Linked DNA regions of Homo sapiens: region 2 is linked to region 1. Evidence: promoter capture Hi-C in 16 types of primary human blood cells and fetal thymus (Javierre and others, 2016). All regions are on one chromosome and are shown on one strand. The core of a region is centred on a gene start or on the middle of the fragment in contact, and the rest is flanking DNA. Distances in the headings are between cores, read along the strand shown. Region 1 holds the start of ROPN1L-AS1 (ROPN1L antisense RNA 1). Region 2 has its middle 120 kb from the start of CTNND2.

What was found. The method cuts DNA at HindIII sites, captures the fragments that hold promoters and counts their contacts. A CHiCAGO score of 5 or more calls a contact.
Region 2: a contact is called between a fragment that was not itself captured here and the fragment with the promoter of ROPN1L-AS1 in region 1, in 1 of 17 cell types (total B cells). The highest score is 9.1, in total B cells.

What each region holds. Positions count from the first base shown.
Region 1 is chr5:10,438,533-10,443,334 of GRCh38, reverse strand. It overlaps ROPN1L-AS1 (ROPN1L antisense RNA 1), which reads left to right and starts at 1,484. Exons shown (of 2, transcript NR_102746.1): 1 at 1,484-1,647; 2 at 1,962-2,600. ROPN1L (rhophilin associated tail protein 1 like) reads right to left here and starts at 1,456. Exons shown (of 5, transcript NM_031916.5): 1 at 1,037-1,456. The coding sequence starts at 1,167. It overlaps MARCHF6 (membrane associated ring-CH-type finger 6), which reads right to left. Exons shown (of 26, transcript NM_005885.4): 26 at 2,947-4,802. RefSeq lists a silencer at 1,343-1,602. The HindIII fragment of the contact is 3,763 bases long and covers 507-4,269 here.
Region 2 is chr5:12,021,192-12,025,746 of GRCh38, reverse strand. No RefSeq gene overlaps it. Among named protein-coding and RNA genes, the nearest start is that of CTNND2, 120 kb to the right of the region's middle. The HindIII fragment of the contact is 700 bases long and covers 1,674-2,373 here.

The DNA of each region.
Region 1 (4,802 bases), core at 235-2,734:
TATGTCTGTGTTTTAAGCTGTCAAGTTTTGTGGTGATTTGTTACAGCAGCCAAACGAAACTAATTCACTTTGGTTATAGAGTTTAAAGCCAGCAAAATTTGGCTGTTTTTTTTCTTTTTAAATTAGTTTTCTTATTAAAAAAAATACAGATGGGGTCTTGCTGTGTTACCCAGGCTGGTCTCAAACTCTTGGGCTCAAGTGATCCTCCCAGCTTGGCCTCCCAAAGTGCTGGGATTACAGGCATGAACCACCAAGCCCAGCCAAAATTTGAAATGTTGATGACTAAAATATTTAAATTAAATTTACACCTGTGCTGACTCTTGTCATCATAAAAGTGAGTTTTTGTTTTACATCTGTTTATTGAAAAGGGGCAAAGAGCTCTCCTGTAAAACCAAGAGGATTTCTTTTAATGCCTCTAAGATCTGTTGACTTGTAACTTTGAGATTATGAATGTCTGTTCCTGGCAAGTGTTGGAATGTTTGTGGCAAAAAATAAACTGTGAAGCTTCATTTGCTGGACAGTTTACCCTGAGCACTCTAGGGATGATGACCTCAGTATGACCACGGTCGTTCCGGTTCTAATAAATTTAACCAGCTCTGGGTATACATAGCTCTGAGAGGACTCTCTGCAGATGAGGAACTTAGCTAAAATATTCCTCTTTGTAAAGTCATTTCACAAAGTGACTGCAACCGTGTAATTTTTTTAACATAATGTAAACACTTTTTTGCCCAATGCAATTACTTTGTTAAGTTTTAGTCTATCTTCATCATAAACACTTTTAAACAATTGAGTTGCCATTACGTTGTAGGTAAGTGAGCATTTTGCAATGATTTCGGGTCTCATAGTCGATAAATCGAAATGGTTCCTAGATAAAACACTCAAGTATAGATGTCACCAATGCTAAGGGGAAAGTTTTGCCTGATACTCTTAAGGACGCTGAGTGCCGCGTAAGGCCCCTGGTCCGGGAGGAGGGCTCTCTGGGCTCGTCTGGCTTGGGCATGTAGACCGGACAGCTCCCCGGGCCAAGGGCGCTTACCCCGCGGACCACCGCAGCACGTCGGCCGGCTGGGTGCGGATGGCAGCCTTGGTGAATTGCTTCAGGATGTCCGGCAGCTCCGGGGGAATGTGGATCTGCTGAGCGCAGAACATGGTGTCGGGAAGCGGCATCGCTCTCCGCAGAAGGGACCAGGCTGGTGAATCGCGGCGCGCTGCGAGGAAGAAGGGCGGCTGTCGGCTACGACGCGGTGGACCCGCTAGCAGCGCGGGGCTTGCGGCCAGGGCCGCCTCCCATCCCGTTCCCGAGGTTGGGGCCGGATTCGCGGGGCTCTTACCCGCTCCTCCGCGGGCTTCGGGAGAAATTCGGACCAACTGCCACTCCGACAACACCCTAGACCCTGCAGTTCCCTAGCGCCAGCCGCCACTACGGACGCGCTCGGTATCCAGGCACCCGGGACGCGAGCAGGCCCCGCCCCTGGAGCCGCGCACGCGCACGCGGCCCTGAGCGAGGCGGGGCTGCTCCCGGGCTGGACAAGGAGGTGCTGGCGTAGTCCGACTAGCAGCAGCCGCTGCTCCCCGGTGGTTCAGAGCCGCGCGAGCTGAGCGTTTCGCCTACAAAAGCATCTTCGGATCGGTTTCCCACCGCCGAATGTGAGCGGCGAACTCACGAAGGACTCCCTCTTCCCCTTGCTCTGGCTGCGTGAGGCTGAGGCTAGGGGACTCGGGCCTGCTAGGAGGGAAGCGGGTTAAGTGAAGGGGCTGATCGCCTGGGCGGCACGGGCCCCGCTGCGGGACCCGCCTGCGCCTGGGGCCGCTCCTCCAAACTTCTCGGGCTTCGAACTTCGCACATGCTGTTCCCTGGCCTAAGCCATCCCGTAGTGAACCTGAGTTCTTAATTTAAAAAGCCGCTTAGACAGTGGGCAGTTTCCAGCTAAAACACTATTGTATTTGTTTTCTTACGATAGGTTGCTTGAGCCAATGTGACTGGCTCTAGGAGGAAATAAATCACATCTGTCAAAAGAGCCTCGAGTCGAAGGATAGGAGAAACCTCGAATTTGGTGGGTGCTGACCAAGGCACCATGCAAGGGGTTAACTTTGCTTTAGGGGGTGACCTGGCTGGCTGCTGCAGTTGCCGTTAACAGCCACCGAATGGATGAGACTCCAGATCCACCTCCTCCTGCGTTCCTCAAAACAGGAAGATGGAGAACTACGGAGAGCTACTTCCCAGAGGGGCCGATGGCAAGCACTCCCTTCAAGGAAACTGGGGAAGTTGCCCGATTTTGATCGTTTCCATCCAAACACCCACCAGACAATATATACATACACATTTCTAAATTAACAGCATTGGCAAAAACTGAAAATACTTGTATTTAAAGTTGATGACAGTATGAAAACAAGAAATCCGTCCGGGCGCGGTGGGTCACGCCTGTAACCCCAGCACTGATCACAAGGTCAGGAGTTCGAGACTAGCCTGGCTAACATGGTGAAACCCCCTTCTCTACAAAAATTGGCTGGGCGTAGTGGCGCGTGCCTGTATTCCCAGCTACTTGGGAGGCTGAGGCAGGAGAATAGCTTGAGCCCGGGAGGTGGAGGTTGCCGTGAGCAGAAATGGCACCACTGCACTCCAGCCTGGGCGACAGAGTAAGACTCTGTCCCCGCCCCCCTCCACCCAAAAAAAGAAAAAAAAAAAAAGGAATCTTCTATGTTGTTGAGAGGGATGTTAATTAGTACCTTTATGGGGCAGTAATGTAACACTAAAATTTTTCGATGATCGTGCAATATTACTTCTGGGAACTTACCCTACAGAAATACTATAAAAAGTAATATGGACAAAAATCTTCACCATATAAATTGGGTAAATGTCTTTTGGAAAACAAATCATGGCCTGGCCACACAATGGTATGAAAAGATGCCCGTGTAAAGTGAAAAAAAGCATCTTGTCAAACAATCTGCATAGTATGACACCTTTATTGTGATAAATGATTCTGTGAAGGTATGTCTGGAAGCACACAACTAAACTATTAACAGCAGTTACCTCTGGGAAATAGGACAGGGATTTCAGGTTTTATTTTGGCCATAGACACATTATTTTGATTCTAAATTCATCATTTATTTACTAACTTAGCATTACTATTGAGTACCAAATATTTGCCAGGGAATTGTTCTGGGAATACAGTAATAATTCAGTTTAAAAAAATAAAATCTTTGGAGCTTACATTCAAGTGGGAAACAACATGCAAATATAAACAACAAAGGTAAACCATATAGTATGTTTAAAAGTACAAAAGAGAGCCGGGAGTACAAAATACAGCAGGGAGATGAGACAGGAATGCCCCAGTAGCTGCAGCTTTAGATAAGCCTCAGTGAGAATGACACTTCAGGAAAGAAATGAAGAGGCTAAAGAGCCTGAAGAACATTTGGGTATTGCAAATAGTAAGTGCAAAGGCACGAAGGCCTGACCTGTTTTGGAGGCAGGGAGGACGGCAGGAGCAGGGTGAACACAGAGGTGATGGGGTCAGAGAAGGGAGAAAAGGGGTGCTTCATGTTTTGCCCAGCATTGAAGGCTATTGTGGACTTTTGAGTGCCATGGTCGTCTATTGGAGAGTTCTGAGGGTTGGTGTGATCTGACTTGGATCTCAAGAAGAACATTCTGGATTCAATGTTGAAAACAAATGGAAAAGGAGAGAGAGCAGGGGCAGAGGCAGCAAGCTCAGGAGAAACAGCGATTAAGTAAACAATGGGTTTACTTGTTCAGTTTTGAGACTTCTTTATGTAATCTAGATGCAACTCATTTATCAGAAATGTTTTGCAAATATTTTTCTGCCACTCTACAGCTTGTCTTTTTGTTCTCCTTATGGTACCTTTCAAAGAGAAGTTCTCAATTTTGATAAAGTACAATTTATCGATTTTTCCTTCATGGATTGTGCTTTTGGTGTTGGATTTAAGAAATCTTTTCCTAACCCAAGGCTGAACACGTTTTCCTTGTTGTCTTCTAGAAATTATACAGTTTTGGGGAACTATAATCCATTTGGACTTTAATCTTTGCCAGTGTTAAGATATGGATCAATTTGTTTTTAATTTTGCATCTGATGCCCAATTATTCCAGCATCATTTTTTCAAGACCTTTGCACCTCTGTCAAAAACCAGTTGTCCACATACATGTTGGGTTATTTCTGGACTCTATTCTGTTCCATTAGACCAATGCACAGCCAGCAGAAGGGACTGATCCCAAAAACATATGAGTGAATGAAGAGGAGTACTGGGTATGAAGCTTCTCATCTTTAGGTGTATCCTAAAGAAGAGTTACTGAACAAACACAGAGAAGCAGAAAAACTCCGGCACTGTTACATATGTGAAGAAAAGTTTCAAAATGATAACTAAACAATGTAAAATGAGGCAAAAAGGGGCCTCTACGTAGTGTTTACGTATGAGTGGTCTTAGAGAAGTGTGTGACTAAGTAGAACTAGATTGCAGAAGGCTGAAAGAGTAATGGCAGGGGGACCTACATATACCAAACAGTCACTAAGGAAGTGGCTAGGCCATCTCTCCCGGGTGAACCTTTCTCTGTGTTCCCCATGGCATTTTATTCATACCTCTGTAATACAATCTTTTGCTCATGCTTCTGTTCCATTCTGAGTTCCTTGAAGGGAGACATCATACCTCATTCAACTACAGTACTAAATACAGTGCTAGAAACAAAACAGACACCAAAATAAAAACATGGAGGAGGAGGGGAACGTTACCCTCTCAGCCCCTTGATACGTTAGTTCTCCTTATCACTACATGTTTGCAACAAGAGTAGCTAT
Region 2 (4,555 bases), core at 774-3,273, 1.6 Mb before region 1:
TGTGAGTGACTGTGTAGGTACACCTGCCATGCATAGTGGATATCAAGCTTAGGAGAAAAGAGAGGTAAGATCTGCAGGGTCTCATGCCAATAAGGGGGATTTTAGATTTTAACCAATATATGACAGAAAACCATCAAGGATATTGGATGGGGTAATGTCATGATGGATGCTTTTATTCTTAGAATGTGCATTGAAAGTCAGGTAAGTGTTCACAATAGCCCCAAGAATGCTCAGTAATAGGATTTAAGGCATTTTGGGCGGTACAACTTCAAGGCATTTACTGCATCCCTACCAGCCATATCACTTTTAAAAGAAATAGACACCATTAATATTTCATTCTCTTTAGAATTCTTATAAATATAGTTCTACTGAAAAATATGGCTTTTGGATCATCATTATGCAAAAAATTGTTGGTAAATCTTTCTGAAAAAAATCCTCACTGAAAGGTGTCTATTACCTTCCACTTTCAGGTTAGAGTAATATTTTAGTCAAAAAGAGTCAACAAAAAGTATTTTCAGAGAAGAATGTTGGCCCTGCCATCTGATATCCCCTTTGCTCCCACCTGGTGAATATCTTTACTTTATTTATTTATTTTTTTGAGATGGAGTCTCGTTCTGTTGCCCAGGCTGGAGTGCAGTGGCACAATCTCGGCTCACTGCAACCTCTGCCTCCAGGGTTCAAGCGATTTTCCTGCCACAGTCTCCCAAGTAGCTGGAATTACAGGTGTGCGCCACCACACACAGCTAATTTTTGAGAATGAGATGAGGTTTCACCATGTTGGCCAGGCTGGTCTCAAACTCCTGACCTCAAGTGATCCTTCTGCCTCCCAAAGTGCTGGGATTACAGGCTTGAGCCACCACACCCGGCCTAACTGGCAAATGTCTTCAATGTATCCTCTGTTTTCACAGATGGGTGTAAATTCTACCTTAATTCAGCTGATTCTTAAAAGTTTGTTTCTTCCCCGACAAATACATGTAATATCATTACAGATACCTGTAAGGGAATAATATCGAGTCTTCTGTCATTCTGTATCTTGTAAAAGTTTGGCTGAGACAAATATTAATATGACATGCAAAATTTTAAAAGATGTGAGCTTCATTAGATTTCAAATCATGGAAACAATGCGGAAAAATATTGTGTGTGTGTTTTTGCCATCTCCGTGAGTTCTGACATCTAATGCTGATTGTATTACCCAGTTTGATCCAAACTGTTTACATTTGCTGATGTAACTAATCATGTTTTCCAATGTTATTCAACATTACTTAGATTTTATGTTTATGAGCACACTAAAAACTTGTATTGAACTTTTGTCTTTTACGGTAATTAACAGAGTCTGGTTATGGTGTGATTTCCTAAAACCCCTGCCCTACGTTGTAACAGAGTAAGGAGAAAATGAGAAAAGATAACACTTCACAGTCTCTTGTTGATATCCTACATAAGGTATACCTTAAAGCAAACATCCAAATATTATCATCCAAATATAAACTGATTATCAATATAAAGTTATAAACAAAATAAATTATAAACAATTTTAAAAATAAAGATACTTGTTTATGTCTACCAAGAGCAAATTCAAATAAAAAACCCTTGAATTAATGCCAAATTGACTTTAATTTCATTATTACATTACTAGTTTATAGTACAATATACCATATTTTTCATATGTTGAAGCTTCGAAAGAATCTAAGGTCAAATCAAAGATCATGTTTAATCAAAACAAGAGGAAAAGGAAGTAAAATGTCTTTACAAAATGTTAAGATTCTCATATTCTATAATAATAATCAGGCTCTTCACCTTAAAAAACTATCAGGGTAGTTCAATTCGAATATCTCTATCAGTATTTTCTACTAAGCTGCCTTTAAGTACTGAAATTAGAAAACCATTAATAACATCAGACTTTTCTTTGCCCAGTAGAGGGCAGTGCTACATATGGAAACCAACTTATTACTTGGTTCTTTGAGAGTTTGTGAATGAATGACCCCATTAACTCCTGTACCTAATGTAAGTTGATTTTTGTTCCTTAAAATAGACAATCAAATTCAACGGAACTAAGTGGCAATAGAAATATGGAGAAGTAAAATGTCCGCACAGCCAAGCAATAACTACAGAGCTGTGGCCGCATTGATAACACTAATATTGTTTAATATGAGTTATACAAGTGTTTTCAAGTAATGAGTCAAATAGCAATGTACATGAGAGTCAGAGACTAGATAATTCTTCAGGATTAATATTCAAAAGTAATATTAGAAAAACATATAAATTACCTTTAATTGTCTTCTTGCTTACTAGAATTAAGGTAGGTAACGTCCCTAAAGAGTAATGCTCTGAAAAATAACCTAATTTAAGATGATGTAAATTCCATTCCTTGAAGCTTTTACTCTGGTTGAATCTCCACGGTGATTGATTCATTCTTTTAATTAAAAATCCCAAATTCATGAGCCAGTTTTAGTTCACTGTGCTATATCTTATGATAATATCAATATCCTAGCACCAAAAATTGAAGTAATCTCTTTTCAGAGATACTGAAACAATAGCAAAAATGGGTTTTTTTTCCCCAACATCTGAGCACTTTACTTTAAAAAAGCAGGCACTGTAATATGTGTAATATGTAATTTTTTGAGGAAGACAACATCTACTCTTTTCTACCATAGATAGCTTCATTTGTTTCTACTCTATAAACTTATCAAACCAGCTCCTAAAAATTACTATGGTAATTTGTCAATTACATCAGTTTGACCCATATCCTCTTAGATAGAAAGTTTACCTTCAAATATTTCCCCAATATTTCTTAATTTTAATTATTCCTTTAAACCTATTTGATTTTTTATTTGTAAGCATAAATTTAATTAATTATTTGAAAAATACTTCGTTCTGGATGTGTAGTCTTTAGATCCCCTTTTTCGGATTTATAGGTTTAGGAAGAAGTTATATCTTCTTTATTTTGTGAGGTGCTTAGAAATAAATATTTGATGATGATGATAAAGTTTCCATAGGATTTCTTCTCTACTCCATTATCTAAATATTCACTAAGAGGAATGTCTAAAAGAATTAAATAAGTATGAACATGAGTTAAACATTTCCAGTTATTTCATGTTGCAACACCTAAGTCAACATTGCCATATGCCGACTCTCCTATTAAAGCTCTCTTCAGGGAGAAGAACTTGGTAATCCGATAGAAAATTACCATTCAAAAGAATTACTTTTTAAAAAGATACTGTCTCCACTATAAATTATTTTATATGTCATTCTTTGACTTGAAAAATATGTACCCAAATTTTTCTATGATAACAAATGTCTCGATATAAATTATTAGATGAAAAAAGCAAAGCTAATCTGAATGAGAGAAAACTATATTATAACACACAGTGAAATGCTCTTAGTTTAGTCTAGTTTAATTTGTAACACCACTGTAATTTTAGATTCCGCTACTTACTCACCTGGGTTAACTTGGTGATCATAGTTAATTGGAGGTAATATTATCTTCCTTCGAAGGCTGAGGCAAGCATTATAGGGGAATGTATATGACACACCTGTCATAAGGACCAGGATGTGTTTGTTGACTAGTAAATACTTACGACTCTTATTAGCTCTGCAAATCACTTTTTATTTGATGTTGGGCAAATAATTAACTTCTTTGAATCTCTTCTTCACCACTCAAATTGGAATTATAATACCCACTTGTTTTTACCAAAGAGTGATGTTAATTTGAGATGAGATAATAATAAACGTAAAAGTGTGAAAGCACTTTGCAAGTGACAGAGGGCCGCATAAATATTAGGATATATAATTAATTGGGAATATACACAGAAATTAAAACTGGCGTAAGAAAAACTCTATTGCATACTTTGTCATCTGGGGACATTGTTTAGAAAGATCATTTTGAAAGAAAAGTTTACAGTAGGTTGTAGAGAGCAGATCATTACTTATAACACCATTGTAATTTTTATTTACTTTGTGAAAATCATGGTTACATTTTTCAGAGTTTTGCCTGAATACTGATGGATTGATTTAGTGGGTCAGAACTAATAATGTTGACTATATTTGTAAAGTACAAGACTCCCAAGATACATTTTTCTTTTTGAGATAAATTTTATTTCTAAATAGGTGAGTTTCAAATTTTCATGCAGAAGGAAAATTTTACTAACAATTTACTGATGAGAAACCCTGGCCAATATGACAGAGATTTATATTCAGAATCACAGTATATGTTGTAGCTCCTACCTGGGAGTTCTGTAAGGAACAGAGGTCATGGATGGCATAACTGTTGTCTCTGAAGGAAGCAATGCATCTTGCATCCCTCTGAAGAGTCATCCCACAATGAGTATTATTGAGAGCCAAGTCCTCTCTGACTCAGGAAGAGAAAAAGAAAAAGTGCTCCTCAGAGAAAGTGCTCCTCAGAAGCCCTTTCTAGGAAGAAAAGTGTTCTTTTCATTGCCTCTTCCCCCAGACAACCACATCTCCTCCTGTGTCCTCAGAGTGCCCGTTCAAAACGGCCTTCCACAGCTGATGAGGAAGAACTACTTCTATGCTTAAACATTATTAGTAGCTCTAGGGA